2 separate regions of the Homo sapiens genome follow, and region 1 is linked to region 2. The links are contacts of gene promoters, found by promoter capture Hi-C in human tissues and cell types (Jung and others, 2019). All regions are on one chromosome and are shown on one strand. Each heading gives the region's core, a stretch centred on a gene start or on the middle of the fragment in contact. The rest is flanking DNA. Distances are from core to core; before and after follow the strand shown.

Region 1 (5,801 bases), core at 2,993-5,492, 500 kb after region 2:
ACAAGAGGCAAAGAAAGTCGACTTTCTGACCACCATTTGAGCTCCTGGATATAGCCATACCTGAAGGAGGCCATAACCCTGAACTTTTATGGTGCAGGACACACTCAGTTCCCTAGTTTTTGTTTCTGTTTTGCTTGTTTCTGTTTTTTTCTTGAGTAAGGTTTGTCACTTGTAACTAGGAAGGCCCTGACAGGTACATTCCTGGCGTTCCAAACCCCTCCCCCTCACTCACCTGAGGGCCTGCACCAGATTGAGGTCGGTGAACTCATGCAGATCCACAAAAGCATGGAGCACTGCCAGGTTCAGTTCTTCCCTGGAAGGATGGGACAAAGACACATACAGTTTGGAAAGGATGGGGCAGGAATGGGCAAAGGGCAATGCCCTGGGGAAGTCGTGCCCCCTCTACTGCACCACAGCTGCCCACTGCCGAGGGTGAAGTTTCCTGCTGGACTCCCACACAGGCCTGCCCCCAGGGTGGGGGATGCTCAGAACACACTCTTGGGAGGAATATCTGGCTTGGGAACCCTGCTTAGGCCAGACCTTTGTACAGTTGGGAGAAATGCCGCAAACATGTATGCTACCTACTGTCACCTCTCTCAAATGATCCCCATGCTCCCCAGGTATCCAGACACAGCCCCCACATCCCCCAGACATCCAGAGATGCTTCCCAAGCACCCCAGATCTCTATAAATCCCTGATTCCCAGACGTCCACAGATGGCCTCCAATCATCTGATGTCCAGTCCTGTGCACCCTAGGCTTCCAAATGACCCCCACAACTCCTAAGCTCCCACAAGGGCCCAGCGGTCCCCACAGCTCCCAGATGGCCACCCAGTGCCTATGCACAGCCATGGTCTACCCACGGTTCTCAAGCTCCCATGATCCTTGAGAGATGTTCTCTACCCTTCTCAGACATAAATGGATGCTTCCCCACAACTGCCAGGTAATTCCAGAAGGCCCCACATCCCCAGATGCTCTCGGTTGGCCGCAGGCTCCCCTAGCCCATGTCAGTCCATTCTGTCACAGTCCAGTCAGAAGGCTGATCTGCCAGGGCCCCTCTGCGGGGAGGCTGCAGGGCTGTTCCACCTGTGAGCTGCCAGTGTGAGGGCAGGAGCTGGGTCTGGGGGGTGGGAGGGAGGGGCCCCACAGGAGCTGAGTGGTGACCGTACCTCTCCCCCAGGTAGTCCCCGATGGCTGTCTTGTTCAGCCCCTCGCCCTTGTACAGGAAGCGGGCGATCTCCTCGGGTGTGTTCTGCAGCAGTTCATTCTCCACCAAGAACTGGATCCCCTGGTGGGTGGGGACAAGGTCTCAGTGCTGAGGGCCAGAAAGCCACCCCACTCACCTCCCTGGGAACCTCAGCATCCAGACCTACCCCCACCCTCAACAGACCAGGGCCAGGTTTCATTTTCAGCCTTCTCACAGGTCTTAAATAGCATTCTTCCCAACTCATGGCCTTTGCACTTCATGGCCTACCCTCTCTGCCTTTGCCTGGTTAATTCCAGCACCAACAACAGGGTCTGGCAAGGCACAGGTGCTCAGTACATTTTCTCTTTTTTCTGAGACCTGGTCTCGCTCTATTGCAGACTGGAGTGCAGTGGCGTGATCACAGCTCATTGCAGCTTCGAACTGCTGGGCTCAAGGGATCCTCTCACTTCGGCCTCCTCAGAAGCTGGGACTATAGGCATGCCCCAACACACCTGGCTAATTTATTTATTTATATTTTTTCTAGAGATGAGTTATCACTATGCTGCCCAGGCTGGTCTCAAATTCCTGGCTTCAAGCAATCCTCCCTCCTCGGCCTCTCAAAGCACTGGGATTACAGGCATAAGCCACCGAACCCAGCCAATCAATGTTTGTTGAATGACTGAACAGAATTCCAATTGCTTCAGGAAAGAATAACGTGACAACCTGTTAGCAGACGCAGTCCTTCAAGGGCTGTGAACTCGAAGCCCTGGCTAGACTGGAGGTTTCTCTCACTCTCTGTGCTACGAAGACCTCTCTACTACTGCTTTATCTCACTGTGAACTGTGGTATCGGTGTCCAAGGGCTCTCTGAGCACAAGGCAGCATCTAATTCTTCTTTGGGTCCCCAGCATTGCCCTACACAGGATCAGACTCTTGAGAGGCCTCAGAAAATGGGTGTTAAATGAGTATGTGAACAGGCCAGGCACGGTGGCTCATGCCTGTAATCCCAACACTTTGGGAGGCTGAGGCGGGCGGATCACCTGACGTCAGGAGTTTGGAAGCAGCCTGGCCAACATGGTGAAACCCCATCTGTACTAAAAATACAAAAATTAGCTGGGCATGGTGGTGGGAGCCTGTAAGCCCAGCTACTTGGGAGGCTGAGGCAGGAGAATCGCAGGAGGCGGAGGTTAGTGAGCCGAGATCACATCGCTGCACTCCAGCCTGGGTGATAGAGCAAGACTCTGTCTCACACACACACACAAAGAGTAGGTGAACAAAAGCCTTTCCTCCACCTGGTGAACACCTACTCATCCTTCAAACCCGACCTGAATGTCTCCTCCTCAAGGAAGCCCTCCCTGACTCCACCAGCCTGCCTCCTCCAGAGGTCCACTACCCTGATACCTTCCTCCGTCACGGCACCTTTGTGGGAGAGAGGTCAACTCTCCTTTGTGCATGTCACTTTGTCCACAGCCCCTACAAGACTCGAGCTCATCTTGGGACCAGAAATGCGCCCATACAAGTAGAAAGTGGAAGACGACCTTCCAGGCAGGGGACAAAACAGTCAGGAGGGCTGGAACACTTGGTCAGTGTTCAGTGTTCAGAAAACAAATGGACAGCCAGTATCTGAATCCAGGGATTAGGACCAAGTCTGTCCACCTAGAATAGACCCGGCACCATCACGCTTCTGGAACCCGGAGGTGCCAGAAGCCCCTGCCTGGATGTTTGCCCAGCTGATCCCAGTCCTGTGGCCCCAAGCACCTTCTTGGGGTCCATGTTGAACTTCTTCCTGCCCATTGCCATCTTCCGGTTCCGTTGCAAGGTCTTACTGCAGGAGCAGAGAGCAGGGTTGGGGGTGGAGGGTCAATGCCTGGGCATCCCTGGCCTCAGCCAACCCCACGCCCCCTAGGTCATCCGCCCCAGCCCTCACCTGCCCTCATTGGCCTCCAGCCCCTCCACCTCGCTCATGGCTTCACTGAGCTCCTCCCGCAGGCGCTGAATCTCCACCAGCAGCTCCTGCTTCCGCCGCCGGATGTTCTCCAGCTCCATCCGCTCCTCCGGAGTCAGGTCTGGGGGTTCTAGGGATCGGGGTCAAGGTTTAAAAGTCAGTGCTAGGGGCCGTGAGCCTGAATTCCTGCAATCTGGGGGCGGACAGAGCTGGGAGAGGATGTGTAAGGGGCTTCCTATGTCTGCACAGAAGAATGGGCTGGGGGCCTGGATTCCTCCCTGCAGAGGAGAAAGAGCTGGGGCTCTAAACTCTTGAGTCCTGGGGGACAAGGGGAATTGGGGCCCGGATTCCTGAGTCTGAGGGAGAAGGGGAATGGGTGCCTGAGCTCTTAGATCTGAGGGAAGAAAGGGCTGGGGGCCTCGGCTTCTAGGTCCATTACTTGGAAGGGGACTGAGGCCTTGGTTTTCTGACTCCATTACTGGCGAGGTAGCTGGGGACCTGGTTATCCGGACTACTGGGTCCATGAAAAGTCACTACAGCCGGGGGAACTGATGACAGCTCAGGAGAGTTGGGAAGGTGGGGCGGGACATCGAAGGCCCCCGCCCCCCAAGATTTCTCCCCTCCCCGCAACCCAAGCGCCCCTCCCCGGCCCCGGCAGGCGCTGGGCTCGCCCGCCCCTCCAGCGGGAATGGTTCCGCCCCGGCCTCGCCTCCACCACTCCATCCCGCCCCTCCCGCCGCCACCGGAAACAGGCTCAGCCCAAACAATGGCCTGGAACGCCCGGCTTTCGGGCCCCGCCGGAAGCCCGTCCAGCGCCCAACAAAAGCGGCGCGACAAGTCTACGACTGAGCCGAACGCTTCTGGGCGCCGCGCGCCAGGGGGAAACGTTCGCGGCGGAACGTTCAGGAGAAAACGCTCCAGCAACTCCCAGCCGACCCCGCCCCTCCCCGACCTACCATAGACGCCGTCCTCCATGGCGGCTAGGAAGGCCCGCGGGGAATCCGGGGCGGTCCCGCCAGTCGGGCCTGGATCCGCGTTGGCCCGCGGGCTCGGGTGAGCCCGCTCAAACGCCCCGGGAGCCACCGCCGCCTCCTCAGCGCCAGTCCTCAGCGCTGAAAAGACTCTTCCCTTCGTCGCCCAACCGCCCCTTCAGTAGGGACCGCCCCTCTTTTTGACACTGTCCAATCCACAGTGGGCGCTTTCGTCCTCCCCGCCCTCGCCACCAAAGGATCGTTCTCCAGGGCCAACAGTCGTACAAAAAGCCGGTGTAGGTATGTCCGGCCAGAGGTAGACGGCCCGCGGGGCCAATCGGAGTGCAGGCAGGGCAGCAGGCCCCGCCTCCGAAACAACAGAAAGCACTTGACAGGCTTGCTCTCCAATGAGAAGCCCCGGAAAAGTGTCGCGCGGAGGCGGAGCCACGCGGTACAGCCACCTCTGCGCCTGCTCAAAGGCCCTGGACACTTGGAGTCTAGGTAAACCGAGCCCCGCCTCCGATAATACGTTGCTAGGGGGCGGTACTTTGTTAGTCTTGTTGCTAGGAGGCGGGGCTAGAACTGGCTTGTTTCCGTAAGCCACACCTCCTAGCAGGCCATGCTGGCTTCTGACCGCAAAGGTTGCCATGCAACCGGGAGCGGCTTTAGGCCTCCTTTTCTTTTGCATTTCTTCTCCGCGTATTTCCCCTCCTCTCAGCCCCTTCTTACCGCCGAACTCCTTCTTTATCACCATCTATGCCCTCCCCATCCCCCTCAGCCTCTTCGGAGTCGTGGAGTGGTGAAACAAAAGACTTCTTCGTTTTTTCTTTTTTTTTTTTTTTTGAGACAGAGTCTTGCTCTGTCGCCCAAGCTGGAGTGCAGTTGCGCGATCTCGGTTCACTGCAACCTCCGCCTCCCGGGTTCAAGCAATTCTCCTGCCTCAGCCTCCCGAGTAGCTGGGATTACAGGGTTGCACCATGATGGTGCATGCCTGGCTATTTTTTGTATTTTTAATAGAGACGGGCGTTTCACCATGTTGGCCAAGCTGGTCTCGAACTCCTGACCTCATGATCCGCCCACCTTGGCCCTCCAAAGTGCTGGGGTTACAGGCGTGAGCCACCGCGCCTGGCCAAGATTTACTTTTTTCTAAATGCTATGCTATTTGGTATCGGTCATGGGGAATGGAACAGGGGAAGGTGAAATTTAGTGAAAGCACAGGCTCGGCCTTCCTGGCACCTTCTGCCGCTCAGACTCCTCCCTCATTTCTCCAAACTCCTTCCTTTAGCTTAGCATCCTCCTAAGACTCCTCCCTTCCCCAAGCATCCTCCTGCTAAGACAACTCCCCTTTCCTCAGCATCCTCCCACCTCTCTGATTCCTTCTCCCATCTCAGAGGCCTTTTTTCCTCTCTGGCTCCCCTCACGTCACGGTCCCCCTTGTCCTCTCATACTCTTGCCCTTTTTTTTTTTTTTTTTTTTTTTGAGACAGAGTTTTGCTCTTTTGCCCAGTCTGGAATGAACTGGCATGATCTCAGCTCACTGCAACCTCCACCCACAAGGTTGACGCGATACTCCTACCTCAGCCTCCCAAGGAGCTGGGATTATAGGCGCCCACCACCATGCCCGGCTAATTTTTGTATTTTTAGTAGAGACGGGGTTTCGCCATGTTGGCCAGGCTGGTCTCAAACTCCTGACCTCAGGTGAT
Region 2 (6,358 bases), core at 1,177-3,676:
GGCATCACGTGTTCCTGGCTGCTCAGCTCCACTGGCCAGTTCCTCTCAGTGTGCGCCTCACATTGGGATCACTCAAGCTCGGGCCATAATCTCTTAAACTCTGGAGCAAAGACCTCAGTGAGCCCCCCGGTTGCCATGCAAGTTGCATAGCAATAGCGTCAATGTGCCCATATAAAGGGCCTAATAATTCCAACTGCCTCCCAGAATTGAGGCTTTTTTCTTTTTTGAGACAGAGTCTTACTCTGTTGCCCAAGCTGGAGCACAGTGGCGCCATCTCAGCTCACCGCAACTTCCGTGAGGCAGACATGTTTTTTGTTTGAGATGGGAGTTCCACTCTTTTTGCCCAGGCTGGAGTGCAATGACGCCATCTCAGCTCACTGCAACCTCCGCCTCCCAGATTCAAGCGATTCTCCTACCTCAACCTCCTGACTAGCTGGGATTACAGGTATGAGCCACCACACCCAGCTAATTTTGTATTTTAGTAGAGACGGGGTTTCTTCATGTTGGTCAGGCTGGTCTCGAACTCCTGACATCAGGTGAGCGACCCACCTGGCCCCATAATCACTCGTTAAATAGGGCTGTTTCTGGCTGAGACCTAACATCTGTTTCTAGATACCAACCTAGGTCTTAATTCAACTCCCTGGAGTCTATCTCTACCATCTGGGAGGGACAGTTAACAGCCAGGCAAGCAGAGAACCCTCAGGTTCAACACTACCCAGATAGCCTCTTGTCTTAGGACAGTTAAGAAAATGGGAGATGGGGCCAACTCCTCTTTCACTGGCATCCCAACCCAGCCAGAAGCTTTATGAGAACAGATCCCACCTCATCTTCCACACCACACACAAAACCACCAGCTGCATCAAAAAGCTTTATTTCCATTTGGTCCAAGGCTTGTTAGGATAGTTAAGAAAGCTGCCTATTGGCTGGAGGGAGAGGCTTAGGCAGAAGCCCTATTACTTTGCAAGGGGCCCTTCAGAAGTCGCTGGGCTCAGAAGGCTCTTAGTCGTGCTTGAGAGTGAGCCTTTCGAAGAGATACTCGCCCAGCCCAGCCTCCGGGCCACCCAGCCTGTGGAGGTTGGTCAGGTGGTCACCCATCTTCTTGATAAGCTTCACTTCCTCATCTAGGAAGTGAGTCTCCAGGAAGTCACAGAGCTGAGAGAGAAGAGGGAGAAATTAGAAACCCAATCCCTGGAAAAGAGGGGGAGAGAGCAGCCAGTTGCAGATTAAAATGTGACAGGTGTGAAATGAGGCTCTGAAGGAAATTTGCCCAAAGGGAGCAGAGGCTTGAGGGGTATGGTTGGGTAGCCATGGATGCAGCGGGTACGTACATGGGGGTCCGTGCGGGCAGAACCCAGGGCATGAAGATCCAAAAGGGCCTGGTTCAGCTTTTTCTCCAGGGCCATGGCAGCTTTCATGGCGTCTGGGGTTTTACCCCACTCATCTTCAGCTGGCTTCTATATAGAAGGGAGAAATGGCTCAGAATACACACACTCGGCACATAGAACTAAACCTACATTTCCCAAGAGTCGTTGGGGGTCAGAGGCCCAGGCCACAAAGACATGTGACAGCTTGTATTTATCACTCTCCGCACCCTGTCCTAGCTCTTACAGCTATACGTCCCTAAGACCACGCAGCGGTGTGGACTGCCGCGTGTTGTGGGCACTGCACGAGGTGCGCCTCTATTTCCAGCGGTTAAGAGGGCTCACAAGACCGAACTCAATCTCCCAGAAGCCCACGCGACACCTACGCCCTCAAATCAAGGCTCCTCGCGCGCACGGCCTGCTGGGAGATGTAGTCCATTACCCACACACTAGTTACCTTGATGTCCTGGAAGAGAGCGCGGCCGCCACGCTGGTTTTGCATCTTCAGGAGACGCTCGTAGCCCTCGCGCTTCTCCTCGGCCAATTCGCGGAAGAAGTGGCTCACGCCTTCCAGAGCCACATCATCGCGGTCGAAATAGAAGCCCTACGGGAAGAGATGGAGGCAACAATGGTTAGCGGGAGGCGAGGCCAAGGGGACTCCGCCCTCTGTTTACCCGACCGCACAAAGAAGGCTGGCGCGTGCAGTGAGGGCCGGAGGTGCGCAGCTGGAGGAAATTAGGGCCAGGGGCGTCCTGGGGACTCACCAGAGAGAGGTAGGTGTAGGAGGCCTGCAGGTACAAATTGACCAGGCTGTTGACGGCTGCCTCCACGTCGGTGGAATAATTCTGACGAATCTGGGAGCTCATGGTTGGTTGGCAAGAAGGAGCTAACCACAAAAACGGTGCTGGCAGGTCCCAGAAGCAGGAGATGGCCGAGAAGATGGTCCCGGAGGTTGCAAGCGGAGAGGAAATCGGAGGGCGGTCGGAGGCTGGAAGAGAGTCCCCGGATCTGTTCCGTCCAAACACTGTTGAAGCAAGAGACAGACCCGCGGGACCGCCGAACTGCGAGGGGACGTGGCTAGGGCGGCTTCTTTTATGGTGCGCCGGCCCTCGGAGGCAGGGCGCTCGGGGAGGGCTAGCGGCCAATCTGCGGTGGCAGGAGGCGGGGCCGAAGGCCGTGCCTGACCAATCCGGAGCACATAGGAGTCTCAGCCCCCCGCCCCAAAGCAAGGGGAAGTCACGCGCCTGTAGCGCCAGCGTGTTGTGAAATGGGGGCTTGGGGGGGTTGGGGCCCTGGGGCTGATTCTGGAAATGCAGGGGTTCGTGGGCGGGAGGGTGGGGGCTGGGGTCCCTCTGGGAGGCTAGAGTTTTATGGGAGCACTAACAGCCCTGTGAACTGATGACCCTGGGGTCCTGGGGTGCCTCGGGAAAGTAAGATTCTGGGGTTTCCGAGGGCATGGATTTTTCTGGAACCTTGAGTGGGGGGAGGGGCACCTCAAAGGTGCAGGGAGGACCTGTAGTTGCCTGAGGTTTGCGCTGCGAGATAAGGAGTCTCCGGATCCTTGGGAAGCTTGGAAGGCTGTGAGGTGTTATTTCTGGACCCCTGGAGATCTCTGGAAGATGGAGTGTTGCGGGGACTGGAGTCCTGGGATTTACAGGGGTGGGGGTTCACGATGCAAACTCTCTATATTTTGGAGCCCTCCCCGGGGAAATCTTTAGGTTCTTGAGGTGCTCTGCAAGTTGGAAAGGGCAGTTATTCTGGAGCCGTGGGTTTCACCCAGTGCGGGAAGCCCAGGAGGAGCATTGTATGAGGTAGGGTGACTTCTGGAACCCTGGACAGCCCTCTGGAACCCTCCAAAGATGGGCTGGGACTTTGGGGATACCTTGGAGCTCTTTCAGGGGCCCAGGCTTTTTCTGGGAGTGGAAATGGGGAGGAATGAAAAGTCTGTTTTGAGCTTTGCGGTGTCTCTGGGATTGCATTTCCTGGAGGCTGTTTTGGAGACAACTCACAGACTTCGAGAATTCTCCGTGGCCCTGAACAGTGTCTCTGAAGTTGCCCTCGTGTCTTGCCTGACGTGTGCTCCTTCAGGCCCACAAAGAGAAGCCCTGCGTTGTGGACAAACAGTCTGGGGACCTATGGACGAGACGTCTGTCTTCGACTAATGCATATTTTTTAAGTGGGCCTGGTCCACGTTGATTTCTGGGAGACGGAGTCGGCGCAAACCTTGACTCTACTTAAGTGCCCTGATGGAGGCAGCCCGTGCGCTGGGCAGGGAGCTGAAGCCACTGGGGTGTGGGGTGAGGTCAGGCCCTGCCCTACAGAGGAGCTGCTCCGAACAGCCCAGGCGGGGCAGCCCCTGACCGAGGGGATCTGCAGATGCCCCGCCAGGCCGGTATCTGGGGTCCTTGTTGCAGGCAGCGACTGCTGAGTCATGCTGAGCTCAGCGCGGGAAGGGGCCCCCGCGGGGACGGATGGGGGTGGGGCCACTCGCTGACCTCATCCCCTTGGCACTCCCCGACTTTTTTGGTGGGACCCTCAGAACTAGACCTGGCTCAGACCCAAATCGGGCCCCCTACCCCAAGGTCCCCCCTTGTTGGAAGCCGGCTGTGTGCTTTGTCTCCGTGTCTTTTTGGTTCCCATAATTTTTTTTTTTCTGGGATCCTGCCTGTGGCCATATTGTCCCCTCACTCTGGGTGGTGGCTCAGTGTACACTCATTGATCCTCTGCCCCTCTCTCTCCCCTGACTTGGGGTCTCTGGGAAGAGTCCATGGAGGAGGGGCAGCCGTCCAAAGCACCCCGTTGACTGTGGGGCCCGAGTTACTCATTTACCAAATGTCATACCTCAGCCCAGAGACCTTTAGTCGGCCGAGAGGGGCCTTGGGGCCCATAGGTGGAGGGAGAGGAGGGGCTGAGAGAGACAGGATCTGAAGACCATAGAGAACGTGGGGTGGGGAGACAGAGGCCCAGAGAAAAAGAGACTCAGACAGAGACCCTGAGAGAGAGGGGGACAGAGACCCAGAGAGAGGGGAAAACAGACCCGGAGACAGAGGGGTACAGAGACCCTGAGAGAGAGGGGAGGGGGACAGACCTAGAGAGAGGAGGGCAGAGACCCAGAGGGAGGGGAAAAGAGACCCAGAGAGAGGGGGGGACAGAGGTGGGGGGGGACAGAGGCAGGGAGGTACAGAGACCCAGGGGTGGGGGGGATAGAGACCCAGAGGGACCCGGCGGGAGGGGACAGAAATCCAGAGTGGGGGACAGAGATCCAGAGAGAGGTGGGGACAGAGATCCAGAGAAGGGGGTACAGAGACCCAGAGAGAGGGGGGACAGGGACTCAGAGAGAAGGGGACAGAGACTAGGGAGGACTGAGACCTGGGGGGGCGGGGACAGGGACCCGGGGGCGGGGGACAGAGACCGGGGAGAGGGAAAGAGACCCAGAGAGAGGGGAGGTACAGAGACCCAAGAGAGAGTGACAGCCAGAGAGAGGACAGAGACCCAGAGAGAGGGAGACAGAAACTCAGGGTCGGGGGACAGACCCAGAGAGAGATGGGGGGCCAGAGATCCAGAGGGGGGGACAGAGACCCAGAGAGAGGGGGCCAGAGGTCTGGGTGCCAGGGGTGGAAAGAGGCCCAGAGAAAGAGGGCCAAAGGTGGGGTGGGAACAGAGGCTCGGAAAGCAAAGACCCAGAGCATGGGGACAGAGACCCAGAGATGGGAGGGGGTAAAGACCCAGAGGGGGGTGCCAGAGACCCTGTGACTGAGAACCCACATCCTCTAGCCCCCTTGTCTTCGCTCCGCCTGTGTCTAAGGTCACTGGGCCTCTGAGCTCAGCACCTTCTTCCGGCAGTTCCTCTCCAGGGGGGCCCCACCCAGCTGTGGGGCCAGACCAGGTTCCTCCTCCTCTGCCCTGCCCTCCAGCCTCTCAGTCGCCAGCCAGGTCCCTTCCTCTCTGTCCTCAGCCCAGCTCAGGAGGCCTCTCCCGTGGGCCCTCGCCCTGGTGTCCTCAGCCTGCCACCCTCCAGCGACCTCACCACCAGGCTCCAGAGCCCTTCCTGCTCCTCTGGTCCTCCCATCCCTCCTCCCCCCACTCCCATTCTCCAGCTCGGTAAAGGTATGGCCTCCTGAGGTCCCACGTGTGACACGCCAGGCTGTGGTCCCCGGGCCGAGGAGGCTTGCTCTGCAGCCGGCCGTGCTGTTCTTCCCTTACCCACACGCCTGCTTGGGCCTCACAGGCCGCTGCCTCTGTCCCGCACAGATCATCCTGGGCTGCGACAGATGTACCACCTATCACCCTCGTTTCCCGTGAGCTCCCTTTTCCTTTCCCGTGAGCTCCCTTCTTTTCCTTTCCCGTGAGCTCCTGCAGGTCAGGCCCAGGACCAACTCATCCCTAACCCACAGACCCCACAGGGCACCCCAGAAAAAGATGTCAAGTGAGTGCAGAGAGCCCCACGTCCCTGAGTGGCCCAAGCAGGTATCTCTAGGCCAGCAGACGGCGGGCCCGGCGTGGGGCAGCGGACAGGGCCTGCTCTCCTGACGTGCCGGGGAGCGGGGCAGAGGCCCAGTGACTCAGATGCCGAAGTGTGTCCCGAAGGAGGTTTATTACCCCCTCAAGACCACTCTTCCCCACACCCCCCAATAATTACAAAAGTAAGAAAAATGCCCACGTCCCCCAATCCCCACCCCTCCCAGAAAAATGCCATAATTTATGGAGGAAAAACACAGTCCAAGGCAGCTGGGGGCCTCAGCCCATCTTCTTCCAGATGGTGAGTGAGGCGGTGAGCACTCCCGCCACAAAGATGGTCACGGTCTGCCACGTGGGCGTCCCAAAGTAGGAGAGGAGGCCGTCCTGGAGACAGGGACATCAGTCGCTTCAGTGACTCGGCCAGGGGCAGCCCCTGGGCAGGCAGAGGCGGGATCAGGGACGGAGGAGGCCAGAAGGCAGGATTGCGGGCAGGGGACTGAGATGAACGGGCATTAAAGAGCTGGACTCAGGCCAGGCAT

The links. The method cuts DNA at HindIII sites, captures the fragments that hold promoters and counts their contacts. A contact is called where the count stands out against the background at its distance.
Region 1: the fragment with the promoter of CYTH2 here is called in contact with the fragment with the promoter of FTL in region 2 in 1 of the 25 tissues and cell types used here (dorsolateral prefrontal cortex).

The regions. Positions count from the first base shown.
Region 1 is chr19:48,467,810-48,473,610 of GRCh38, reverse strand. It overlaps CYTH2 (cytohesin 2), which reads right to left and starts at 4,242. Exons shown (of 12, transcript NM_004228.7): 1 at 4,085-4,242; 2 at 3,111-3,258; 3 at 2,942-3,008; 4 at 1,168-1,286; 5 at 233-313. The coding sequence starts at 4,103. LOC105372430 (a long non-coding RNA gene) reads left to right here and starts at 4,078. Exons shown (of 3, transcript NR_186576.1): 1 at 4,078-4,600. RefSeq lists a silencer at 4,037-4,226 and enhancers at 3,590-4,583, 4,777-4,936, 4,641-5,141. The HindIII fragment of the contact is 6,294 bases long and covers 2,353-5,801 here.
Region 2 is chr19:48,961,377-48,967,734 of GRCh38, reverse strand. It overlaps FTL (ferritin light chain), which reads right to left and starts at 2,426. Exons shown (of 4, transcript NM_000146.4): 1 at 2,126-2,426; 2 at 1,819-1,965; 3 at 1,329-1,454; 4 at 856-1,152. The coding sequence starts at 2,227. The coding sequence ends at 1,000. It overlaps BAX (BCL2 associated X, apoptosis regulator), which reads right to left. Exons shown (of 6, transcript NM_138761.4): 6 at 5,937-6,203. The coding sequence ends at 6,099. RefSeq lists enhancers at 2,137-2,186, 3,736-3,845, silencers at 2,437-2,596, 5,367-5,536 and cis regulatory regions at 3,527-4,027, 4,967-5,487. The HindIII fragment of the contact is 5,012 bases long and covers 357-5,368 here.